4 separate regions of the Homo sapiens genome follow, and all the other regions are linked to region 3. The links are contacts of gene promoters, found by promoter capture Hi-C in human tissues and cell types (Jung and others, 2019). All regions are on one chromosome and are shown on one strand. Each heading gives the region's core, a stretch centred on a gene start or on the middle of the fragment in contact. The rest is flanking DNA. Distances are from core to core; before and after follow the strand shown.

Region 1 (3,412 bases), core at 34-2,533, 300 kb after region 3:
GGGCCATTCTACCACCAAAGGACACTCAGCAATGCCTGGGAACATTTTCAATTGTCATGATTCTGTTTGCATGCATGTTTGAGAATGGCATCTAGTGGGTGAAGGCCAGGGATGCTGCTAGACATCCTATAGGGCATAGGACAGCCCCCACAAGGAAACGATGCAGCCCCAAAGGTCAATAGGGCTGGGGTTGAGAAAGTCTGCAGTAGTCCTACTCCCAATGTTTCTTCCAAGTGTAATCCTGATACTATCTGTGTCACAATCACCTAGATCATGGGTTCAGTGTAGTTTCCCAGGCCTTACCCTATACTCACTGAAAACTTAGGGGCAGGAGGAGGGGTGGTAGTGTGGATCAAGTAAGGACTTGCGATTCCAGGGACTTGCGATTTTTTTTTGAGACAAGGTCTCGCTGTCACCCAGGCTGGAGTGCAGTGGCACCAACATGGCTCACTGCAAACTCCGCCTTCCAGGCTCAAGCCATCCTCCTACCTCAGCCTCCCGAATAGCTGGGACCACAGGCATGCACCACCACATGCCTAGTTTTTGTATTTTTGTATTTTTTTGTAGTTTTGTATTTTTTGTAGTTTTGTTTTTATAGAGACAGGGTTTTGCCATGTTGCCCATGCTGGTCTCAAACTCCTGAGCTCGAGCAATCTGCCCACCTTAACCACTCAAAAGTGCTGGGATTACAGGCATGAGCCACCACACCTGACCTCAGGGCCTTGCATTTTTGAAGCACTTGCCAGATGATTCTGCTGTATTACTTGTAAGTCCTTGCTACTCAAAGGGTGGTCCCTAGAGCACCAGCATCACCTGAGAGCTTGTTAAAAATGCAGAGTCTCAGCCGGGTGCCGTGGCTCATGCCTGTAATCCTAGCATTTTGGGAGGCTGAGGCAGGCGTCCCATCCTGGCTAACACAGTGAAACCTGTCTCTACTAAAAATACCAAAAAAAAAAAAAAAAAAAAAATTAGCCAGGTGTGGTGGCATGTGCCTGTAATCCCAGCTACTCAGGAGACTGAGGCAGGAGAATCGCTTGAACCTGTGGGGCAGAGGTTGCAGTGAGCCCAGATCGTGCCACTGCACTCCAGCCTGGTGAGAGTAACTCCATCTCCAAAAAAAAAAAAAAAAAAGGCAGCAGTCTCAGGCCCTACTCCAGACTTACAGAACCAATCTGTACTTTAGCCAGATCCCCAGGTGATTCCTGAGCACAGCACATTACAATTTGAGAAGCACAGCTCACAGCCAGTGGTTCTCAGACGTCAGCGTGTATCAGAATTGCCTAGAAGGCTACTTAAAACACAGGTGGCAGGGGCTCCCATTTGGAGTTCCTGATTGAGTAGGTATGGGGTGGAGCCTGCGATTTTTCACTTCTAACAAGTTCCCAGTTGATGCCGATGCTGGTCTGGGAACCATACTTTTGAGTCTCTTGCTCTGTGAGCAAGAAACTGGCTCAGATGCTCAAGGTTGCAGGACTGGAAGTTTTCAGCTCATTGGAACCCACACTTGCCAGATCTGCAACCCATCCTATGTCCCTCAGGGACAGACACAAACAAAGCCTCATTACATAGCAACTCACATACTAGAAGAGAAAACCATTAAACTCTTGAGGGTTTTAATTCCACAGAAGTCAAGCAAGACTGAAAACAAATCTAAGTGAGGCACTGTATAACACAGTGGTTTGGGGAACAGACTGGGAAACCAGCTGATAAGTTTCAATTCCAGTTTTACCATTAGCTGTGTCCCACTGGATAAGCTACTCAACTTCCCCGTTCCTCAGTTTCCACATCTGTGAAATGGGTATTATGGCCGTCTCATTAGCTTAGATGAAGTTCTTTAGTATATGTAAGAGAACCTCATGTATTAGTCAATACTGTATAAATGCTATTAGTGTTATTCACTGATATACACACGTAAGATTCTACCAGATTCTCAGGGGGAGAAAGATGCATGTTTTCAACGCAAACTAGAAAAGTGAGAGAGAGGTGGGTTAAAGGATGACCCAGATAGAGCCTCTGATGGGGAGGTGTGAGGGGCCTCCGATTTCTTTTACGTTTAGACACCCAGGAAACCAAAGAAGGCCTGAAGCCCACTCTCCTGGGAAAGGTGCAGCTGGGGGAGACCCTCTGCCTCTGGAAGTGGGGGTGGGCCGCATTTGACTATTAGAAACCAGGTTAGCATGGCGAGGGTTTTAACTCCTGGGGAAACGGATGATGTTCCCTCAGTAAGGTTCCTCCAGCCCCTTCGTCATTTTACTGGTGGTGACAGGAAGTCCACTAATTACTTTCCATTTTATTTTCCTCCAAAAGCTACTTGAGTTGCAAAGACACTTGCAAATTAAGAGTGGCCCAACCTTCGTAAAAAATGTACCCCCTTGCCAGTGTCGCAGACCAAAGGTACTAGGATAAAACGTCAGTTGGAAGACGGTTTTTTCTCCGAAGTGGTGGCTGGGGTTGAGGCACACTACTGGGCCGGCAGAGTTTGCGTCCTGCTCCCACAGAAGTCACCTCAGTACTCCAGGACGCACGACACCCTCCCCATGCCCGAAACACTGGGTGCGGCTCCAGAAGGCGCCTCGCAGCGCTGGCTGCAGGAATCCAAAGTAGCTCAGTGCACAGACTTTCAACTCCAGCCTGGGGTTACTCAGCAATTCTCTTCTATAAACACCTCCCCCAAAAGACTCAGCATCCCCAGTACCTCCCCAACTTCCCCGAGGCGCAGAGATCAGCAAGAGCCCCGCCCCTCGACCCAGGGGACGGGATCCTGTAAGTCTCACCTGCCTATCTCCATCCCAGGCCTCGGGCACGAGGGTGGTTGTACTATCCTGGTTATGGTAGCTCCACTCGAGCAAGCTTTATTTTAACATATAAGCTATTCGTTTAGTGGAGGCTTCATTAAACTACTCCCCTCCACCACCACCTCGGGAAGTTGTGGTCAAAACCCACCAGACCGACTGTGGTGGAAGTTGATGCGGAAGCTGGAGAGCCCGCGGCTCTGGAGGGGTGAGCCGCCCCGGAGAGGGGACCCATCCTCCTTTCCGCGCCCGGAAAGAGCGGGGGAGAAGAGGAAGTCCAGTTACAACTCCTTTCCTCAGCCCCTTAAAGGAAAGGTATCAGCTAACCACGGGGAGCTGGCAGCCTAAGAGAAAGTAGGAACCTACAATCTCTTAATCTAAGCACAAGATAAGCAAAAAGGGAAGCGCCTTAGAAATGCAGATTCCCCAACCCCACCCCTGAGATTCCAGTGGAGGCGGGGGATGGGGGGATCCCTAACTTGCAGGAAGAATTTGGCGAGCGAGAAAAGGTCCCCTCCCGCAGGCTCTTCTGAAGCGGAGGATCCCGGGACGAGAAATGCTGCCCGGGGGGCTTAAGGTAGCCGACGATCTCCTTGCTACATCCTGTGTCCACGTGGCAG
Region 2 (3,247 bases), core at 241-2,740, 410 kb before region 3:
ATGATTCTCAGTGACCAGATCCAGGCTCAGGGCTGAAGTCAGCATAATTCTTGAGCAAGAAAAAGGTGATTCCTTCTTCCACAAAGCCATTCCTTCTCCTGAGATGCCATCTTCTAGAGAGGTGACTAACAGGCTCTGAGTGGGGGTTTTATTATATGGGTTTTTGTTTCCTGGAATGAGTAACAAATGTTTCAAGAATACATCATTTCTCTTAAGAAAAAAAAATCAACCTATGTGTAAAAAGAGACACTTAAAAAGATTTCTGACCATTTATAAATATAAATCTAATTCCAACAGGGGTGTAATATTTTGAGGACAGGTAAAAAGCATAAAAATACAGGTAAGAAAATAAAATTTAATAACATACTAATCTGGATTGCTATACATATTATCAAGCAGCAGCATCTTTGTACAATACAGGAAGACTTGCAAACTTTGGAAATATACTACATTCAGCAACACGGTAGACCTGTCAGAGTGCTACATATTTACATTAACTTAGATGTAGCAGTGCAAACCTTCACTCAACTGAGATCCTTCTAACACACGTGCAACACACCCATCTTTACCATTTAGACACCCCTACTTTCTCATTCTCTTAGAGGATCTTATTGCCTCTTCCCGTACTGGAAATATTTCATGAGCCATCCTTCTTGGCAAAATTTCCTCCTAGCATTTGTAACTGACAAAACTTCCTTGATAGCTGTCAGTTCCTAATACACTTTCTCTTGCCTGTTTATGTCTCAAATCTAATGCTTTTGTTTCTCTTTCCTTTGCGATTTGTTACAGTTGTTTATGAAAGTGCTTCCTATAATATCCAGCTAAGATGTCTTAGAAAAACAGAGGGGTTTATTTGTGTGTGTATTACACACACACACGCGTACAGGAGGTTGAGCTACCAGGAGGCCGTTTTTGCTAACATAGTTAGAAAACTGATGGAAAATGCATTAGTCCTTTTTCACCCTGTGGACAAGGAAGCTGAGCTACTTTGCTACAATAGCAGGAAGGCACTTGGGTAAAACATTCAGATAACTGAGGAAAGCCCAAATTCCCTCATGTACAAAAAACAGCTCCTAGCCAGTCCTAGCCAGGTCGAGTGAGAACAAATCACTCACCACACACTCTTGGCTTTTCCCCAGTGAAGTCAATATTGCTGGAGAGAAAATTCTTTAGGTGAAGCTGCTAGTATAAGGAACTTATAATAAGGAACTTATTTTGTTCATGAGGAAGTATTTAGCATCCCAGAAGTTCCATGGTAGGGGTCAACCTCTTACTGGCATTCTGTTTATTTAAAAGAGAATTTTGCTAAACTCTTTGAGCTTAGGGTGGGTGAGGGAAAGGTCGTTCATTGTCAGGGAAAAATAAATGCTAGGTATCGACCGACAGGTTGCATACAAGTGCACAGGCCCGAATCTGAGCATTTTGCCTTCTATCTGGAGTGCCAAACACACCTGGCCCCACTCCCAGGAAGCTTTTACCTCTGGGTAACCTTGACGGGAGAGCCAGGACTTACAAAGCCCACAGTGGGCACTGAGTGGCCATGACTTTCTTCTGAGGCCTTCTGCCTACAGACTGTACAGACTGGACTGAGAAAACACTCTAAGTACAGTCTGAGTGCTAAGAATATTTTCACTTTGCTGCGGATTATTGAGGAAACAACTGAATGGCTGAAAAATGAATCCCCCGCTTGTCCTGGGGTATCTGCAGTACATGCAAACAGAAACAAACACATCTGCCAAGAACTTCAAGGGTTTTGTTTGTAAAAATCACAAAAATCACACCCACAGAGGAAGACTAGGGGAGACTGGGTGCGCTCAGTGGAAACAGTTGGGAGGAAGGAAATCACATATAACATGCAACCGAATAGAGCTCATTCAAAGTAAAGGATGCATTCGAGTAGATTTCTTCATGTTAGAATTTGAGTGCGGATAGGTCTTCAGGGGCAGAAGGGATCTTTAAATAGGTTCAGGTCAAATTAACCAGTGAAGCTGGGAAGCACATCCTGAGCTCGGCTGTCCCACTTAGAGGGAATTCAGCCCTTTTCCTCTATCTTGGTAGAAACCCACCTCCAGAAGCACTTGGGCTGTTTTACTTAACAAAAATACCCACACTTCTTTTCTTGGTTGCTTTAGCCCTTCTGCTATTCCTCAATTAAATGCACATGCTTGAGATTCTCCACCGCTTTACGGAAAAGCACTCTGGCTGCTAGGAAGAAAGCAAGCCGGAACCTTGCAAAGCATCCAGGTTGTACAGCTGCAGCAGACAGGTGCTTGCTCTCTGCAGCCTGGGTCAGCCCCCCAAGTCTATGGAAATTGTGTTAGCAGGACTGCGTGCTGCAGGGGTTAAAGAACAGCTCGCCAAGACAGCTCCAGGGCTAGGTGCCCTGGTCAGCCTTTTAAAGCAGAAAAAATAATAATAACAAACGCGTATACATGTCATAACTTAACGCCAAGAAGTCTTAACAGGTGATCTTGTCTGGGCAAGACAGTTTGGTTTTGGAATGAGAATTCAAAAATAAAGCTTTAGCTGTGGCCCAGTTGTGGCATGGACTGGGCGAGCTCTAAGGACTGACAGTTCAGTTTCTGTCTCTATCGAGGGTTTTGGGTTTCTTCAGCCTGTAAGCTGGGCTCTTGGGTCACGTTCCTTTGGTTGCTCTGAGAACTCCTTGCCTTCAAAAGGTACAGGAGCTGTATCTGTGACCTGGAAAAACGAACGCAAGGGCTGGGGTTTAATCACAGTGCCCACATCTTCTGTCCCCCGTCCATCCCCCCAAGCTCCAGTCACTCTGTTCTCAGGAGAGTTCCAGTGTCCTGTCTCATGTAGAATGTGCTTTTGGTCAGCAGGTGCTTACTATTTGGACGGAACACCATTAAGATCAACCAGGATGCTCTCTGGGATTTAAAACATAAACCGAAAAGAAGAGTTCTCTCTGGTGTTTAGAGGGAGGTGGCGAGCTCCTTAAGTGAGAGTCCGCTTAGTGCCCATACATTGATCCGCGTGTGGACTCCGGGCTGGGAGATGAACATGAAAGGAGACAGAAGGTGAGGGGCTGTGGAGGGCTCCGAGGGGTCAGATACAGAAGGTGTCTTGCTATAATGGCTTCTTTTACGTCTGATTTCTGGCAGGAGGTCCTGAAAACTCCTTCCTGATAATTTCATTAACTACAAAAGAAAAGAGGAGGGGGGGGGAGAGAGAATGGGGCAAGTGAGAGGGCACCGAAAACATGCATCAGGTTCACTTTCTAGAA
Region 3 (3,691 bases), core at 814-3,313:
GTTGACTCTGATTCCAAACTCCAACCATCGTTAATTTCAGAAGCCCTCTCGTAACAAGCTTCCCTCCCGAAAGGTGCCAAACACCACCAAAAGCCCCACGTGTGTGCGCCCACCCAAAATGAAGGGGGAAGGGGAGGTCAGCGTAGGACCAGGGGAGGGGTCAGAACCAGGAGCTCGCCCCTCCTCTCCGGAGGAAGCAGGCGGGCTGAGGGTTAACCCTTTTGTTCCAGGTGGGCCAGGCCACGAAGCCTTCACGCTCCCCTCAACCCCCACCCCACCCCGCCCCCAACCAAGGCACAAAGAGAGTCCCTCCAGGCGCCTGGGACCTCGGGTGCGCGCTGCGCTGACCACCCGGCGCCCCGAAAACGCCCAGCCATCCCCTCCGTCAAGCCGATCCTTTTAATTTGCCCTGGAAAAATGTTAAACGGGGAATTCTATTGACGTATTATAAACTTGGGAAATGTATTACATTCAGTCTCCGACAAAAAGGCGGGGATACGGAAGCCAAAAAGTGGCGACCGTCTTCTCGGGAAACCCCGGGTATCAGAGATGGTCTCTGAGAGTCCTCCGGGGTTGCCGCGCACACCCGTCTGCTGCAGGGAAATTAGAAAGCAGGCGGGGAGCGGAGCGACGAACAAGGCCGGAGAGGAGGCTACAAATCCCCCCTCCCCCCACGCGCACGCTAAAAACTTATCAGGCGACAATTTGGCGGGCCGGGATGGAGACGAGATAGTGGAAAACCGCCTCGCTCCTAAAACCTCCGCGGTGAAGTGATGAAGTGGGAACAGAGTTGGCCCCGCCGTTCCTGGCGCGGCTGGGGTCCCGAACTCCCCTCGATCTGGGAAACGCTGGCCGCGGAAGCGTGGGCCAGGTCAGCCGCGGGAGTTCGCTCTGGCCCCCCACCTCTCCCCTTTCACACCCAAGCGCAAATGTGGAAAGCCGAGCGCTCCAGAAAAGCCACGCAAAACGGGAGGCCGGTGCACCCCAGTGGGGCTGCCGCGCGCCCGCCACCCCGGCCACTGGGGGCTCGCACCCTCGGGCTTGCCGCGGTTATTTTTAGGAAGTCGGAAATCAAAGATGGCTGGAGGTCAGGCCCCGAAAGGTTAGGGCGAAGATCGGCAGGCGGCGCAGCCCGGGCAGAAAAGGCGAAATCCAGAAAAGAAAAAAATTTTAAAGGGAAACATTGAGCCCTCCTCCCCCACCTCTCTGGGCCCTCCAATCCCCTGCGCAGCGCGGGTGGCCCGCACCCCAGCTCCTGAGGGTGGGGAGAGGTCGCGCCCCCTCCCCCCACTTGGCCCGGGAGGGGCGCGTGCAACAGATCGTCCTCCTCCGGGGGGTCTTCCAGGGGTGCGCCCCTCCTCCAGCCTCCAAGAAAAGCCCCAAGGGGCTGGTGGAGAGGGTGGGGATCCCCCGGGGTTCTTTCTTTTGAGAGCGACGCGAGGGAGGGGGACCTAAGTTACAAGGGGGGGGGGTAACACCAGTGAGGGGAGTGGAACCAATTAAGTGAGGGGCAGAGGACAAGGAGAAGGGAACCTTTCGGGAGCGAGAACAGAGGAGCGAGTGGGGGTCAATTTTACAATTAGGGGAGAAAGCTGGGGGTGAAACTTACACAAGAGGGGAGAAGAGGAAAAAAGTGTGAAATGTGCAAAAGGCGGGGTGGTGGGGAGAGGAGGAGACCTCTCCTCCCGGGCACTGAGCCCCCAAATCTCGGCTCCTGAATTTGCGCTGGACGCCGCCCGCTCCCCGAAGCCTGCGCCCTCGAGGATCCCGCGTACGTCCGGGAAGCTCCCCTCCCCGGGCGGGCGCCCCAGCCCCACTCACCCAGCTCCCCCGCCGCGGGCGCCGCTGGGGCCGCATCTGCAAACTCCGGGGTCTGCTGCTGCGGCTGCTGCTCGCCCTGGTCCTCCTCCGAGTTGATGTGCTGGGGTTTCGCCTGCTTGCGCCTCGACATGGTGCGAGCATCGGGGCGCCGGGAGAGCCGCAGTTATTTGCCCTCTCCGCCACAAATTCCTGGAGTTGGGAAATTTACCCCCCTTCGGCCGGAACGCGCATGTCCCAGTAATTATTATTATCAATAATGCATTGCGATTTATCATGAGCCCTGACAGCTGATTGGCCTGGGTCCAAGACCTCAGAGATCATTTAAATAAGCCCTCATTGATCAGGGAGGGGTGAGGCATTCTGGGCTTTGTAGTCCGGGCCTACTTGTGACAAAGGCGTGTTCATCAGGGGAGCGCAGCTAATTAGCATCCGGGCTCAGATTGGCTGGGGCGGGGACGAAATCAGAGGGGGACCCATCCTTGCTCCAGCTATCTCAGTCCTTGGAGAGGAAAAGAAAATGGGGAGAAATGCGTACTCATTAAAAAGTAGGAGCTTACGTAGAAGTTTTGGAACGGCTTTATTTGGTAGTTACTTGCTCCAAAGATTACTTGGTAAGGTTGATGTCCACCAGCCGAGAAGGGAGATCTCTTCACAGTGGAATATTTTGGCTCAGTTTTCACATCTACACGCACACACATTCCCCCAAACCTGAGATGTGACCCGTGTCCCCTCCCATCTTTTTGATTAAAAATGTTTAAGTTGAGTCTCGAGATAACTGAAGAATGATGAATGGTGGTGTTTTCAGCCCTCCCACCCATCTCAACTCTTAAAGTGAGCTCGGAACTTCCAAAATTTCAGATACCCCACCACCACCATGACTTACCTCCTTTAAAAGCTGATTAATAGCCTCCAGGATTCCTGTTCACAAAGACTGGTTTGTGGTTACAATGCAAACCTTGATTTTTTTTTAACTTCAAAATGACTGGCTACTAAATATAGAAATGGCAAATGATAAGCAAGCATAGTCAGAGATAATATCAAAACAGCAAGCAATTGCATTTTTTTCCCCAGGAGCCATAAATGCCTGATAACATCATATTTTATTACTGAGACAATGCTCTTGCATCTCCCATGGAATGGCAATGGGGCACTGTCACAGTATCTGGTTGTTACTAATCACTATTGGAATTTTTTTGTGCAATACACACATTATTACAGAAAAGGTGTATCGTTCAAAGTGATTGTATCATTGACACATGATGCCTGGAATTTTTTAAAGTGGGGCTTGTGTGTGTGTATATGATATATTACATGTATACACATTTATACCGTAAATTCATGTATACTTAATTTGGCTAACTGCTTTACACAATGTACATGCTCAATAAATGTTAAATGAATGATGAAATCATCAACCTGCTAAGTCTTTGATTGGTCTTTCCATAACTGCTCTGGGCATGCGTCTTTGTTTGGCATTTACTTCATTGTAAGGGACTGTGCAGATATAAACCCTCCCTCCACATTTGTGCATTGCATTCTCTTGATTAGTTATTCATCACGTTCCCAGCTTGTAAACTCATCAGGAATACAAGCAAAATGGAATGCTGGGCTCATCAATGTGTTCACCTGGGTATTTGGACAACCCAAGGCAGAAAATAAATCAGCTTGATCATCTTTTTTATATTCGTGGCCATCAGTAAAAACTTGTTGAAGGAAGATTAACCTTCAATTTTTGAGTCTCTGAAAAAGTCTTGCCTTATTTTATGTATAATATTTAAAGCAAGTAAGACAGAATTATAGCCAACAGCCAGATTGAAAAGGTAAGAATTTGGTTTAATAATACATAGAAGCAGTTTAGAATTCTGATACT
Region 4 (3,240 bases), core at 142-2,641, 260 kb after region 3:
GGATGTGACTTGAATGGTCTCTGGTTTTGGTGTCAACCAAGTAGGAAATACTGTCATCAGGTTCTTGTGTATCTTTCCAGAGATATTGATGAACATATGAATAAACACTCATTCATACTTTTTTGATCTGCAAATGGTAACATACTGTGTGTTCCATTCTGCATTTTTTTTCTGTCTATATAGCTTTAGCTATGGCCATGTCATATATCTATAAAGCAAGTCTGTGTTTATGTGTGTGTGTATATATACATAGACTTGTTTATATATATAAGTGTGTGTGTGTGTGTATTTTTTTTTTTAGAGCCAGGGTCTTTCTCTGTCATCCAGGCTGGAGTGCAGTGGCACAATCATGGCTCACTGTGGCCTCAATCTTCTGGGCTCAAGCAATATTCTCATCTTGGCCTCCCAAGTAGCCAGGACTATAGATATGCATCATCATGCCCAGCTAGTTTTTAAATTTTTTGTAATGACAAGGTCTTGCTATGTTGTCCAGGCTGGTCTCAAACTCCTGAGCTCTAGCGATCTTCCAACCTCACCCTCCCAAAATGCTGGGATTACAGGCATGAGCAACCACACCCAGCTGCTTTATATTTTTTAATATACAGCTTTTAATGTTTTCAATGAATTCCATGGAGTGAATTTAGCCAGGCTCCTCCCTATTTAGAAACATTTAAGTGGTTTTCAATCTTTTGCCTTTACAATCAGTGCTATCATGAATAACCTTCACAAATATTATTTTGCTCATCTCTGAGATTATCTTAGAAAAAAATCCACAATTTTTCAAGACTAGTTATAATATAAAAATGCCTCCTTCCAATAGCTTAAGAAGTATGTTTCCTAAAATTGAAACTGACAGAGTGATCCTCTTGGGTCACCTTTGTGCGGGATTCTTGTCCAGCTTCCACTTCTCTAACTTCAACCTTAGCCAACTCCAATGACTGACTACAAATCTCATCTTGTTATTTCTTTTCTGAATCCTGAAGCCCAACTGATTGCTACTTTTCCTGAAATGACAGAGAAGGAAAAAACCAGCAGGTATTGAGAATTTACCCTGTGCAGGCACTGGACCAGGAGCATTTATATATTATCTCCTGGAGACTTCACAGTAACTTCATGAGCTTGGTGTTTTTTAAAACTAAGAAAACTGAGGGGCTGGGCACAGTGACTGATGCCTGTAACACTCTGGGAGGGCGAGGTAGGAGAATCACTTGAGGCCAGGAGTTTGAGACCAGCCTGGGCAACATAGTGAGACCCCATCTCTACAAAATATAAAAATTTAGTTGGGTGTGGTGACATGCACCTGTAGTCCTAGCTACTCAGGAGGCTGAGGCAGGAGGATTGCTTGAGACCAGGAGTGAGGTTGCAGTGAGTGGTGATTGCATCACTGCACTCCAGTCTATGCAGCAGAGCAAGATCCTGCCTCTAAAAAAGAAAAAAATTAAAAATTAAAAATAAGACAGAAAATAAAGAAAAAGAAAACTGAGGTTCTGCAAGGTTAAGTCACTTGCCCTAAGTCACACAGCTGGTAGCTGGCGGGGAGAGGGACTCAGTTTCAGGTCTGAGTCCAGGGATTCATCCAGTATCTCTGGACTACTACAATATACATGCAGACCATCCAAGCCAACACTGTCTTGAATACTTTTAAAGCTTTTAATTTTGGACATTTATTTATTATTTATTTATTTATTATTTTGAGACGGAGTCTCCCTCTGTCTCCCAGGCTGCAGTGCGGTGGCGCGATCTTGGCTCACTGCAACCTCTGCCTCCAGTGTTCAAGTGATTCAGCCTCCCGAGTAGCTGGGAATACAGGTGTGCACCATCACGCCTGGCTAATTTTTGTATTTTTAGTAGAGACGGGGTTTCACCATGTTGGCCAGGCTGGTTTCGAACTCCTGACTTCAAGTGATCCTCCTGCCTCGGCCTCCCAAAGTGCTGGGATTACAGGCATGAGCCACTGTGCCTAGCCAATTTTGGATTACTTTAAATTTATGGAAATATTGCAAAGATAGTACAGAGAGTTCCTGCATATGCTTCACCCAGCTTCTCCTGATGTTAGCATCTTAGGTAACCATGATATATTCATCGAAACTAAGAAATTAACATTGATACAACACTATCAACTAAACTAGAGGTTTTATTTGTACTTTGCCAATTTTTTCACGAATGTCCATTTTTCTTCTCCGGGACCCAATCCAGAATACCACGTTGCCTGTAGAATCTTGTACTATTTTAAATTTTTTCTTTCCTGTATGTCTTAGCCCCCCAACTACTTCTGGAGAGCAGAAATATTACGGAACGTTTCTGTTGAGTCTATCCTAGAGCCCTAGAGACAGTGCTGGACCCACAACAGGAAGTCAATCATGATGTGATATGATTTATCCAGCTTGGTCTGATTTGTCAAGGTTCTGGTTGTAGAAGGAAACAGAAAGTTCCATGGCTCTGGAATATCAGGTGTGCTAATGAACAGCTTGTAAAGCTGGGTGGGGGACATCAGCGCCTTGTCACCTTGTCTGCCAGGCGCTGGAGGAAGTGGGAGATTTGTTCATAACACCGGGTCATTTCCTCCCTTCCTGTCCTGACCTCCCAGCTTTTCCCTGACAGCCAGTGGAAGCCATGGCCCAAGTCATTTAGTGACATCTTAAGGTGAGGCAAAGAACTGACAGGGAGCGCTGGCCCTAAACTCAGACGGGAACTTCCAAATCCAGATCCCCCTCCTTAGAGGGGTTGCCACCTGGAAACAGGAGAAATCTAGACCCTTAATAAAAAGAACATTTTGCTGTGTAATTTCACCCCATTCCCACAACCATCTGCTACCTACTATCCATAATGGAGTTTTTAAAAAATATGCGAGTTTCATTCACTTATACATTCAACAAACATTTACTGATACCTCCTGCATTTCAGACAGATTTAGGAGCTAGGTATAGGCAGTAAATGAAAGAGTCCTGACCCCTATCCTATCAATAGTACAGGAAATAGGCAAGTGAACTGCTAACCAATTGTGCTAAGTGTTACACTCATTTATTTATTTATTTATTTATTTAATTTTTAACTTTTTTTAAAGCGTGATTTTTGTTTTTGTTTTTGTTTTGAGACAGAGTCTTGCTCTGTTACCCAGGCTGGAGTGCAGTGGCACGATTTTGGCTCAACGCAACATCTGCCTCCTGGGTTCAACTGACTGTCATGCTGCAGTCTCCCAGGTAGCTGGAATTACAGGCACCTGCCACCACTCCCAGCTAA

Evidence for each region. The method cuts DNA at HindIII sites, captures the fragments that hold promoters and counts their contacts. A contact is called where the count stands out against the background at its distance.
Region 1: a contact is called between a fragment that was not itself captured here and the fragment with the promoter of SALL4 in region 3, in 2 of the 25 tissues and cell types used here (mesendoderm cells and spleen).
Region 2: a contact is called between a fragment that was not itself captured here and the fragment with the promoter of SALL4 in region 3, in 1 of the 25 tissues and cell types used here (spleen).
Region 4: a fragment that was not itself captured here is called in contact with the fragment with the promoter of SALL4 in region 3 in 2 of the 25 tissues and cell types used here (H1 embryonic stem cells and spleen).

Annotation. Positions count from the first base shown.
Region 1 is chr20:52,100,995-52,104,406 of GRCh38, forward strand. It overlaps a transcript of ZFP64 not described here. Among named protein-coding and RNA genes, the nearest start is that of ZFP64, 89 kb to the right of the region's middle. The HindIII fragment of the contact is 5,658 bases long and covers 1-3,412 here.
Region 2 is chr20:51,388,291-51,391,537 of GRCh38, forward strand. It overlaps NFATC2 (nuclear factor of activated T cells 2), which reads right to left. Exons shown (of 11, transcript NM_012340.5): 11 at 1-3,161. All of the region lies in intron 2 of LOC105372663 (a long non-coding RNA gene), which reads left to right. Among named protein-coding and RNA genes, the nearest start is that of MIR3194, 63 kb to the right of the region's middle. The HindIII fragment of the contact is 4,969 bases long and covers 1-3,247 here.
Region 3 is chr20:51,800,458-51,804,148 of GRCh38, forward strand. It overlaps SALL4 (spalt like transcription factor 4), which reads right to left and starts at 2,064. Exons shown (of 4, transcript NM_020436.5): 1 at 1,822-2,064. The coding sequence starts at 1,951. RefSeq lists enhancers at 483-1,125, 1,769-2,410. The HindIII fragment of the contact is 8,319 bases long and covers 1-3,691 here.
Region 4 is chr20:52,058,656-52,061,895 of GRCh38, forward strand. No RefSeq gene overlaps it. Among named protein-coding and RNA genes, the nearest start is that of ZFP64, 130 kb to the right of the region's middle. The HindIII fragment of the contact is 3,148 bases long and covers 1-2,965 here.